Regions from separate parts of the Homo sapiens genome. Here region 2 is linked to region 1. The links are contacts of gene promoters, found by promoter capture Hi-C in blood cells and fetal thymus (Javierre and others, 2016). All regions are on one chromosome and are shown on one strand. Each heading gives the region's core, a stretch centred on a gene start or on the middle of the fragment in contact. The rest is flanking DNA. Distances are from core to core; before and after follow the strand shown.

Evidence for each region. Contacts are between HindIII fragments. The CHiCAGO score rates a contact against its expected background, and 5 or more counts as called.
Region 2: a contact is called between a fragment that was not itself captured here and the fragment with the promoter of PPARG in region 1, in 3 of 17 cell types (M0 macrophages, monocytes and M2 macrophages). The highest score is 6.3, in M0 macrophages.

Annotation. Positions count from the first base shown.
Region 1 is chr3:12,286,141-12,292,406 of GRCh38, reverse strand. PPARG (peroxisome proliferator activated receptor gamma) reads right to left here and starts at 3,337. Exons shown (of 8, transcript NM_138711.6): 1 at 3,273-3,337. RefSeq lists an enhancer at 4,776-5,354. The HindIII fragment of the contact is 6,976 bases long and covers 1-5,417 here.
Region 2 is chr3:12,384,475-12,390,740 of GRCh38, reverse strand. The region is part of intron 4 of PPARG (peroxisome proliferator activated receptor gamma); the gene reads right to left. Among named protein-coding and RNA genes, the nearest start is that of TSEN2, 97 kb to the left of the region's middle. The HindIII fragment of the contact is 3,674 bases long and covers 1,887-5,560 here.

The sequences.
Region 1 (6,266 bases), core at 2,088-4,587:
CATTATAAAACGAACTTGCTCCTGGGGAATATACGTTAAGAATTCACAAGGTGTGCCATAAAGATATGCAAAGACTAGAGCTTTATCAAATCAAAGCGCACAATCTGTGCCTTCTAGATGCATCGGATGTATAATATTAACATAAGAGGGGCTACACAGGACTCGCAAAGCTGGAATAAAAATAATTACTATGCTGATTTTTGTCCAAAGTCATCAGGGAATGGAAAATACAATTTTAAATTGAATGATAATAAAATATTCCCAGAAACAGTTTATAAATTGATCACCACATGAGAAGCATCATCTTCAATCTTAACAATCTCAAAGTTATTGAGGTTTGAACTACAGTGAACTATTAACATTGGTAAAAGAGTTAGCTATGACATAGATATTCATGAAGGTTCTTTTCAGAATATCAGCTCAATTAAATTCAGGGTCATGGTCACATCATTTAAAGTACATGGGTTTGCTCATAAAGCCTTAAAATCATAGCAAAAGAGCAAGCAATAATAACTGCAACACTTTCTCCGTTTCAAAGATGACAAAATTGAGAGAAAGGATAAGGTACTTGCCTAAGCCATAATAATTGAAACAGTTGAAAATGTAAACAGTCATACTCTGAATGAAATTCTCGGCATTAAAATATTGATGTGTACTTATTGTTGAAGAGAAATTTTAAAAATATGTAAATCTGTTTTTACAAAATAATTTAAACATATACTATTATTGATGACAGATATTATCTAAACATCTACAAAAGTTTTCCCCAAAACATGGCCTATTGCATCTGAATAGATTTTATCCCAAGAACCTACTTTAAGTGCATTAAATAAAATTTAAAACATGACATTTTAGTTAAATAACAGCTTTAAAACATATACTATATTACTCCCCCAATCTACCTCTGTATTTTGAGAAAACGCAAACAGTAAGTAAGAACTTCCAAGAAGATTTCAAATAATCTTAAATCTAAATTTTTGATTTAGAACGCTATGAAACTAACTGAAGTTGATACGCTGGGGATATCTACACTTGCAAGATGGTTGTTCACAACTCTTACTATTCTTTTGTGGAGTCAAATTAGATCCGTTTCAAAGGACCTTTGTAAGCAATTAAAATCACTGCGCTTTTTGTTGCTTTGGGATATTAAGAGAGAGTAAGCAAAGTGGAGATCTACCAGGAAAAATAAGCAAATTAGAAATTCAGTTGTGGGGGGTGCATATGTTTACGCTTACACACTAGTGACTTCACCAAGTTTTCTCTATTAGTGAGTTTTTAAAAATCCTCTACAGCTAATATTTATTTAGTGGAATCCTATGAGACCAAAAACTTCTTCCAGTACATTTGCCACACCTAATGACATACTGTATTTCCAAGTCCAAGTGACAACGAATCCAGCAGAAAGACACCCACAATTAGAATGACCAACTCTGTCCTATGCATTGGGAATATATAGATGCTAGGAAAGAAGTGAAAGTGTGGGCCAGAATGTGTGAAACATTCAGAAAATGTCATTTTAACATATTTTCCTACTTCATGAAAGCCTCTTGTTATTAATAACGATTTTATAACCTGAAAACTAAATGAAATGTATTATTAATACTTGTATATGTTCCACGGTTGTGCCTTTTACACAGCTTTCATGCACATAATTATCTTGATAATTAAGGTTAGTGGCTAACATCCTTATTGTCAGAAAATTACAGAAGAAAAAAGTATTTGTTTATATTTATATAACACTGATTAAAAACAATTCACTACGACCATTAGTAATCCACTTCTAATTCATATTCCTCATGTCACACCTTTTCTCTTGTACACATTTTAAATGTCATAGGAATTTAGAAATATTGCAATTTAAAGCATAATCTAGAATTTTTTTAAAAGTAGTTCTGAAACATACAAAAAAATGAACATTTAGGAAACTAGTCCTTCAAAGAAAATATTATATTTTATCATTAAAAATATCAATCGCAAAAATATTTTCAAAGCACTTAAGTTCAATAAAGAATATGAGGCCGGTGGACATTTTAGTTTTAATTTTAAAAAGAAATTATATTCTTTTTAATGTAAAGAAATGAGAAAACGACATCCAAAAAGTCTTCAGCCTGGGATTCTACAAAACTTTATACCTCACTGATGCCATGGTTTTACAGCAGTTATTGTTTAAGAACTAGAAACAAACTTGTAAATATGAAAAAAGTTTTTGATTTTAAAAAAAACCATCATTAGTGTTTCTCTTTTCCTTCAAGTGAGTTTTAAAAGACTGAGATGGCCACCAGTTGATTCAAAGATCTCTTAAGACATAATTATTAGCAAGTTAACTATCAAATATCATATAATTTAAATCAGGGAGAAAAATTATGTGAAGTACACAAGAAGACAAAAATGGACAGTTTTGTAATACACTTCACTTTTTGGCTGAGACATTACCTTTAAAGTTTCGTATATTAAAGTGAATATTCAAATACACTTTATTTGGAATCAAATAAAGTGTATTTGATTCCAAAGTGAATCTGATTGAAAATATACTACACAAAACTTACTTTAAAACTTGAACAGAATGTTTTGATATATTACTCCAAATGCTAACTGGTAGCATCTATGAGTGTCTTCTGTCAAACTCCCCTAGGAGTGAAAGGTATTTCTTTAAGAGAAAAGCCACAGTGAATGTCCATGCCAGTCCCTATACCAGAAAGGTTTTCTAAATCATCTAGCACCATCAGTTGGTTCTGTTCTCAGTCAGCAATCGATCACTTAGCAATAGACAGAAAGACTGCCATAAAATACCTGAAACCTGTCGAAGATTTGCCCAGGTCCTTTTAAAGAGTTAAGTTATTCATTGTTCTCTTAATAAATCCAGTTAACAATTTGTCTCACGAATGACAGAAACAGTTGGGGTTAAAATAATGTACTTCAAAATCAGAGGTTTTCCAGGAATAGGTATTATACAACTCAGTTTATCATTGTCTGGTTTTATATCCAAATGATAATTTACACAAATAAACTTTACATTTTGTCCCTAATCTTGCAAGGAAAAGAAGAAAAATTTTAGTTTCTTCATGGCAGACGACTATTTTTGACTTGATTTCTTTTATAACAATGACACTATTTTTACAACCGTTAGCCTATGACCCAAGTGAATTGGATTCTTCTTATAAAACAAGAGCACTGCAAAAAAAAATGATATAAGGATAATACAATAATTTTGCAAATTTCGGACCTATCACCAACACATTCCAACAAAATGCAATGAGAGTGAGCCAACTCACCTAAGGAAAGGGAATTAAGCAGAATGCAGAAATGCAGGCTTCTGGTCACCAGCAGAGGTTAAGGCCCCTTCCTTACCTACCACTGACCTTATATAAAAGCCGCAGCTCGGTTACTCCCCGTTTCTGACTCCTTACCTTAGGCTCCTCCCTAAACACCGAGGCGTAAAGTACCACGACTACACACCCACCTTCCACCAAGGGACCTGAGATTTCTGTTAACCTCTGCTGCCTCTACCCCCCTCAGTTAGGCTCCCAGGAGGAGTGGTCAGCGCCTGGCACTTGCAGGAGCCCACAAAGCAGCGACTTCGCCTTTCCAGCCCCCCGGGGTGCGGCTGGGGGTCCTGGCTGCGCGCTCCATCCGCGGAGGCACGGAGGCACCCAGTCCCCGTCCCCAGCCCCTCCGCCGGGCGTAGGGCCAGCACAACGCGTCAGGGCACAGGGCCTGGCCAGCTACAAGCGCGCCCCTCGCTGAACGGTCCCCCGGTCCCCAAGCGGCGGTCGCCCCTGGGCTCTGGACAGCGAACGGGACCTCCTCCTCAGCAGGGGTGCCGCGCGGCCTCAGGACGGACGCACGCGGATCTTCGCTTCCCCGGGTCCAGACACCCTGCTCCAAAGTTCCCCCGGAGCGGCTCCCGACGCTTGCGCACCTCCGCCGGGGACGCGGAGGTCCCCGTGTCCCCGGCTCCGCGCCCACCCGGCGCTCTCCCGAGGGGGGCTGTCCTGGAAGCCGGGACGCACCGGCTCGCGTCCACTCGAGTCGGCACCGGCCGCGGCTCTCTGTGCCCGCGCCCTCCGCCCCTAGTGCGCGCTCCGGTAGACGCGACCCTCAGCCCGGGTGCCCTCAGCCCAAGACCCCTTCACCCGGTCACCCGTGAGCCGCCCGCCCGCGACCCGTCAGTCCGGGTCCTGCCGGACCATGACCCTGCCTCAGCCCCGGACCCCTCAGCCGAGACCCCCTTCTCCCCAGCTCTCATCCGTCTGGGACCCCGTCAGTTCCCGTTTCCTCGGCCCTAGCCCCCAGACCCTCGGCCCCAGCCCTCCGCGCCCCCTCCCTGAGCACTCCCCGCCCAGCCAGCAGCCGGTTCCCGAGCGCCGCGGGCACCCGTACTCTGACCTGCGGCCACGGCGGCGTGGCGCCCCTCTCCGGTGTCCTCGAGGCCGACCCAAGCGCCCCAGGCGGCGGCTGCGGCTCGGGCTCGGGCTCCGAGTGCGCTGGGCCCCGCCTGCCCGCGGCGGAGCCGGGTCGGGCCGAGCCGGGCCCGGCGCGGGGGCGGGCGCGGGCGCCGGCTGGGGGTGGGGGTGGGGGTGGGGGTGGGGGCGGGGGCGGGGGCGGGGGCGGGGGCGGCGGCGCGCGACTGGGAGGGAGCGGCCCGGGCTCGGCCGCCGCCCGCGCACAGTAGGGCCCACGGCGGGAGCCACCGGCTTTCCCGCGTCCACTCTCTGCCCCGCGGCAGGCTACCTGGTGTCGTTTGCTCCTCGCCACCACCGCTGGGAGGCGGCCCAGAGAGGGTCCCATTTCCGAGGAGGGATCCGAAGTTTAGGGGGATGCCCCCGGCCAGGGCCGGTCTGGGGAGACCGAGGTGTGGGGCTCCCTCTCGGCCAGAGTGGCTTGCCCTTCACACGGCGATCGGCCAGGCCGTCTTCCCAAGATGTTCTTTCCAGTGACATTTTAAAAGAAAATTTAATTAAAGCATATTTCGGGTCCCTTGGTTTTCTCTTCTGATCGGTGGTGCTGCACACTTTCAGAGTTCCTTGCGTTTGTAAGTTACATGGTTATTCACAAGTCACTGACTTTTAATCATTAAAAACATTTCTTAAACTCATTAACAGAATTTCTTAAATTTCTTAGCAGTGTTTCTGACACCGAGGGACTCAGACAACATGGGTGGGGACGGAGTGGGGACGTGAGGCACGAGAAACAGTTTCTCATGTGTTGGGTAGACAGTGACCTTTTCTTTTCCTGCCACGCTGTCCATCGTGACCTGTCCAAAGTGGGTTGGCAGGTGCGCGTTCAGAAAGCCGCTGGTCTCCTGGACTTGAGGCCCCTCTTTCCCTTTTTCCAGTCTTATTTCTGGAGCATACTGTTCTGGGCCTGATCCTCTTTGGGGAGGCAGCGATGCCTGAGGCCCCCCACTTCAGGAAGCTTATGGACTGTATGCTGGGGTGCTCTGCATTTCTTCCTAGCTTCATTGTGGTTATTGCCCCTCTGGTACAGAAGGTCCTCGTTTGTGGTTGAAGCAAAGTTTTGCGAGGATGGGTATCACAAGGGAAAATATTCAGCGCTTAAATCAACATAATCATGTCCTTCCTCCACAGCCCCTAAGATAAGAAGCTGAGAGCCACGGATCTTACAGGGACTGACCACTGAAAGACCATTTATTGGCCTGTGATTTAGGTAGTCAGGTTGACCCGGATCCACAGTCTCCACTCAGGCGGAAGTGCTCCGTGCGTCCTACTTCTTGTTAATTCCAGAGTTCCAATCTGCTTTTTTTTTTTCTTTCTTCCTTTCTTTTCTTTCTTTCTTCCATGAGACAGGGTGTTGCTGTGTCGCCCAGGCTGGAGTGCTGTGGCGCAATCACGGCTCACTTCAGCCTCGACTTCCCGGGCTCAAGGAATCCTCCCACCCCAGGCTCCCAAGTAGCTGGGACTACAGGTGCACACCACCATGCCTGGCTAATTTTTTTTTTTAATTTTAATTGTTTAGTAGAGACTGTGTCTTGACATGTTGCCTAGACTAGTCTGAAACTCCTGGGCTCAAGTGATCCTCCTGCCTCAGCTTTCCAAAGTGCTGGGATTATAGGCACCAGCCACTGCGCCTAGCCTGCTTTTTAAAATCACAGCTTTATTGAGGAATAATTAATATAATCTAAAATGTAAATACCATAGAAGTAAAATGTACAATTCAGGCCGGGTATGGCAGCTCACGCCTGTAATCCCAGCACTTTGGGAGGCCGAGGCAGGTGGATCACTTGAGGCCGGGAGTTCAAGACCAGC
Region 2 (6,266 bases), core at 2,474-4,973, 98 kb before region 1:
CCCAGGAGGTCTAACTGCAGTAAGCCAAGTTATGATTGCACCACTGCACTCCAGTCTGGGTGACAGAGTGAGACATTGTCTCAAAAAAAAAAAAAAAAAAAAAGGAAGAAAATACAGCTTTATCACATACTATGTAAAACAAAATAATATACTATTTAATTTTGCTTGTTTGGAGGCTTTATTAAATGGTATTATACTATATGTAGTTTTCTGGGACACTATTAAAATTTGGTATGAGGTTTCTAACATTTAAGTTCTTGTTAGTGAAAGACTATGATTTACTCATTTTCATAATTATATAGTATTCCATTGTATGACTATACTATAATTTATTAACCTATTTGTATGCAGATGGACGTTTGAAATATCAATTTTTTGCTATTATGAGAAGAGTTTCTCTAAATATTCCTGTAAATATGTTTAAGTGGCATTTCTGGGTTGTACAATGTGTGAGTATTAAAATTTTACAAGATAATGCCAAATTGTTTTCCAAAGTGGCTACCAATGTACACTCCCCACAAGCGCTTTATGAAAATTGTAGTCTCTTCCACATTTGGTGCTGTCAGACTTCTTAATTTTGACAATCTGAAATGTATAAAATTGAATTTAAATCTTGATTTGTATGTCCCTGGCTTTTCACTTCCCAGTTTCTAACTGTCTTTTCCTTAAAACTGAATTTTAGACTTTTTTAAAAAATATGCTAGATATTAATCTGTTGTCTGTTACAGATGTTCAAATATCTTCTCTGGCTTACTATCCTTGAAATGTACTTTTTCAGTATTTTTGTTTATTCAACCAATAGATATTTCATTTCACTCTTTTTGTTTTGTTTGTTTTTTGTTTTGAGACAGAGTCTCGCTCTCTTGCTCAGGCTGGAGTGCAGTGGTGCTATCTCGGCTCACTGCAACCTTCACCTCTCAGGTTCAAGCGATTCTTGGGCCTCAGCCTTCTGGGTAGCTGGGATTATAGGCATGCACCACCATACCTGGCTCTTTTTTTTTGTTGTATTTTTGGTAGAGATGGGTTTTCACCAAGTTGGCCAGGCTGGTCTTGAACTCCCAGCCTCAAGTGATCCACCCACCTTGGCCTCCCAAAGGCCTGAGATTACACACATGTGCCACTACGCCTGGCTCACTCTCATTCTTGAGAGATTACCAAGTACTCAGTCATTTTCTCTTAACACTTTGAATTCCATTATCCTTCTGCTTCCATTTTGCTGTTGAGAAGTCTCTTGTCAATTTACTTCTAAGGTGATCTACCTTTTCTCTTTGGTTGCTTTTATACTCTCTATTTGTCTTTAGTATTCGGCAGTTTAACCGCAGTGTGTTTGGGCATGAATTTCTTTTCATTTACCTTCTTGGATATGTTGTTTATGCATTACGGCTTCACATGTTCATCAGTACTGGACTCCAGTTAGATAAGTACTAGACTTTCTTATTCTAGCCTTCACATTTCTGAATGCCTCTTTTTTATTTTCCATCTTCTTCTCACTACTTACTCACTAATATTGATTGCCAAAGTAAAAATCAGAACAGAAGCAAAATAACATGAAAATATATAATTACACTGGCAAAAGTAAAAACAAACATTTCTCACTAAAGTTCATTAGTGAGAACAGTTCTGCACTTTACTCTTCCATTGATCAGTGAAGAAGACATACCTCTTTAATATTCAAAGATCCTATGAATCCTTCAAGAACTAAAAGCCTTCAAATTCCAGCAGATCCTGGATAGGGCATATTCTTTAAGACACTGTTGCTTTCATTCTGGTAATTTCTTTGCATATCTCTTTCAGTTTCAGGTTTTTCTTCTGCTGTGTCCAGTAAGCTATCTAACCCTTCCACTGAATTTTTATTTCAATAATTATACTTTTAACTTTTAGAAGCTTCACCTTTTTTTCACTTGGTTTTCAAATCATCCTGGTTATTCCTAATAGTTTATTGTTGCAAGCCTATGCCCTCTTCCTTTAAATAATTCATAATAGCTTTTTTATATTCTGTATCAGGCAATCCCAATTTCTGCTTTCCCCAGGTAGGGGAAGAGCAGGGAGTCTGTATCAGTTTTCTTGTTGATGATGAATGTCATTCAAGATGGTTAGCTTCTCACATGCTTGCTGATATTATTTGGAACTAGTTTCTTGACCTTAAACTGGGGGACTCCTACAAAGTCTGAATTAGGAATTCAGTAGCCAGGGGTGTTACTGACTTATGACTATTTCAGACACTATTGAGAATCCTGGCTTAATTCAGAAGCCCTACACTTAGCTCCTTCTCACTTATTGCTCAGAAAACTGCTACAGCCATCTGCCTTTGGGGCAATGCTCACCACTGTACCTCTCTGGGCATCTATCATGGGGAAAACCCTGACCTGCTAAGTGTGCCTGCAGCTCACAGCTTGGAACTGAGGGTATGTTTGTTTCATTTTGTTTCATTGATGTTGTTTTGGAGAGTTTTCACTACCTCTTGTGAGATCAGCAATGTCTTAAAGAATATGCCCGATGTAGAATTTGCTGGCAGTTGAAGTCTCTTTAATTCTCAAAGGGTTCTGAGGACCTTCAGATATCAAAAAGTTTTTTTTTCACAGATGAACAGAATGCTAATGTATAGAACTGTTCTCATTGATAAATGTTGGTGAAAATCCTGATGTTTGCCATTGTGATCATAGATATTTTATGATATTCCTTGACTTCTCTTTTGATTCTTGCTTTTTAAAGACTAATATTAGTGGGTGAAAATGCTACTTGGCTAGCTGACAGCTGGATGGCTCACAGAGCGCTCAGTTATTTGGCATGGCTAGGAGAGGAAGGTTTTTTTGATAAGAGAATTATTGATCCCTTCCTTACACCATATACAAAATTAACTCAAGATGGATTAAAGACTTAAATGTAAGACCTAACACCACAAAAACCCTAGAAGAAAACCTAGGCAATACCATTCAGGATATAGGCATGGGCAAAGACTTCATGTCTAAAACACCAAAAGCAATAGCAACAAAAGCCAAAATTGACAAATGGGATCTAATTAAACTAAAGAGTTTCTGCACAGCAAAAGAAACTATCATCAGAGTGAACAGGCAACCTACAGAATGGGAGAAAATTTTTGCAATCTACCCATCTGACAAAGGGCTAATATCCAGAATCTACAAAGAACTTAAACAAATTTACAAGAAAAAAACAACCCCATCAAAAAGTGGGTAAGGGATATGAACAGACACTTCTCAAAAGAAGACATTTATGCAGCCAACAGACATATGAAAAAATGCTCATCATCACTGGCCATCAGAGAAATGCAAATCAAAACCATAATGAGATACCATCTCACGCCACTTAGAATGATGATCATTAAAAAGTCAGGAAAAAAACAGACGCTGGAGAGGATGTGGAGAAATAGGAATGCTTTTACACTGTTGGTGGAAGTGTAAATTAGTTCAACCATTGTGGAAGACAGTGTGGCAATTCCTCAAGGATCTAGAACTAGAAATACCATTTGACCCAGCAATCCCATTACTGGGTATATATCCAAAGGATTATAAGTCATGCTACTATAAAGACACATGCACACATATGTTTATTATGGCACTATTCACAACAGCAGAGACTTGGAACTGACCCAAATGTCCATCAATGATTGACTGGATTAAGAAAATGTGGCACATATACATCATAGAATACTATGCAGCCATAAAAAAGGATGAGTCCATATCCTTTGCAGGGGCATGGATGGAGCTGGAAACCATCATCCTAAGCAAACTATCACAAGGACAGAAAACCAAACACTGCACGTTCTCACTCACAGGTGGGAGTGGAACAATGAGAATGCATGGACACAGGGCGGGGAACATCACACAGTGGGGCCTATCAGGGGGTGGAGGGTTGGGGGAGGGATAGCATTAGGAGAAATACCTAATGTAAATGACAAGTTGATGGGTTCAGCAAATCAACATGACACATGTGTAACTATGTAACAAACCTGCACGTTGTGCACATGTACCCTAGAACTTAAAGTATAAGAATAATAAAAAAAAGAAAAGATAACCTCAAGGTTATGGTTTTATTGCCCTGTAGAACATTAACCATTCTGAATCTTATCTCAGGATTCTTTCTTTCAGTGACTATATATTCTTGGTCCTTCAAGTTCTTCTTTGAACTAGATTTACCATCCTGCTTTTCCCTCGTTAATGGGTTTTAAATAAATCTTTGACACATGTTCAAAAAAAAAAAAAGAGAATTAAGTTTAACTCTTATAATGGAAATTTCTGACATGACTCAGCTGATGACTTTCAAAAGTGTATCACATTTTTTGTGATGATCCAAGGTCTTTCAATGAATAATCATTCTGAACATTATACACTGTATATGTAAATAAAATCTTGAACTGAATACACAGATCCTAGCATGCATCTTGGAACTTGCTTTTACTTTTTTTACACCGAGTTCATGATAACCAAGTGTTTTCTTGTTATGTGACTCAAGGAATCTAGAGAGGAAGATGTAAGGATATTATCGAGTGCTTTTCTGTAAAATTATTTATCGATTTACAGAACAAGGCTGGCTTCTCCAAATTTTCTTCATATTACTGATGAAGAAACACTCTAATAACACTTTTTTATTATTTTAGAGTCCATAGAACAATGTATTTTCAACAACTTACTCTTCTGATGATCAGGAAGTCTGTGATGTGGTGTGTTAGAGATGCATCAGTCACCATCTGAGAAAATTGTTTTGTGTATATATTTATTCTAATGTCTGCACATTTGTCTGCTAGAAAGTAACAGACAAATTTTTCATATCATTTGAAAAATTTTCTTTGATCTCTCCTTAATTGCTTTAATTTTAACAAAACATCAGGGACAATGAGACCTCAGAATGGTGTTGTTGATTTTACAATGAAATTAACAGCCCTGTGCTGGGCTTGCAGTTGGCTTTCCCATGAAGCAGTCTGGCCCCTGGAAGTTGGATTAATAAGCTACGACTGGCAGGTGAGAAGAATTAAAACTCTTTCTGAAGTAGGGATGAATAGACATACAAGTGGCTAACAAGCATACGGCATTCTTTTGTATACAGAAATACAAACTTAGATTACATTGTATTGTATGGTAGACTGTATTTACTTATATCTTTAGGTACGGCTATGGTTCCAAAATGATCTTTCACTAAAGATAAAAAATAGGATGGAACTTACCAAAGAAAAAAATATATCTCCAACATGTAAACAACAAATAAATGATAGCTTTCCAAGCTCTAAATTATATATATCTTTCAGTTGCTAAAGGTTTTATTTTACATAAGTTTGCAATATTAACATACCCAAGAATCTGTAACTATTTCACCTTAATTCAAACCCAATCTACTCATTCTCATCTGTCTGACTGAATTTTTGGCAAGAATCACTAATATAAACCTGTTCCATTTACATTGTAAAATTGTTTAGGAAGATCTACCAAAAGTTGTTTTATGCTGTGTTTATTCTTTTCAATCCATAGATAAGCCTGCAGCTTTGTGGTCAACTGTATTTTAATTATGAATATAACCCACATTTTACTACAACAGCAAATGTGAAGCTTCCAAAACACCTCTCAGAAAATACATGCAGATGAGTTAAACACATTTGCTAATTCCATTTTCCTGGCTTTTTATTGCGTATTGGTTATAAGCTAAGGAGATGTCTTTACTGACAGCCACTGGTCTAATGCAGCAGTATTCAGAATGTGGCAGCAATTTTGTCTAGTTTCAAAGTAGCAAAGAATGAGTAACTGCATTTCTTCAGAATGAGACTGAAGGCTTTATGGTTGCAAGATCCCTTTACTCTTTTTAAAATTATAGAAGACCCCAAAGAGATTTTGTTTATGTGGGCTATCTTTACTGACATTTATCACACTAGAAATTACAACTGAGAAATTATTATATACAAGAACACATAAGCAAACATTCCATTAGCTACCAGAGCTATGTCATCATCCTACATCATGTAGCTTCCAGAACACTCCACATACACTCCTGAGAGAATGAAAGTGAAAAAAGTAATAAAAATCATTATTATGAATATAGTTTCAACTTCATGGATGCCTTGAAAGGGTCCAAGCCCCAGACCACACTTTGGGAACTGCTGATGTATACTTGAAGAAGCCAAATGATAATGTTTCATTATGTAACCACATCCTACCAATATCATCTGAATCATTTTCTAGATGAGAAAACCTGAGTAGGATGTGGTTAAATAATGATATATGCAAATGTACCTCACATAGTATCTGGTACATACTAAGAAT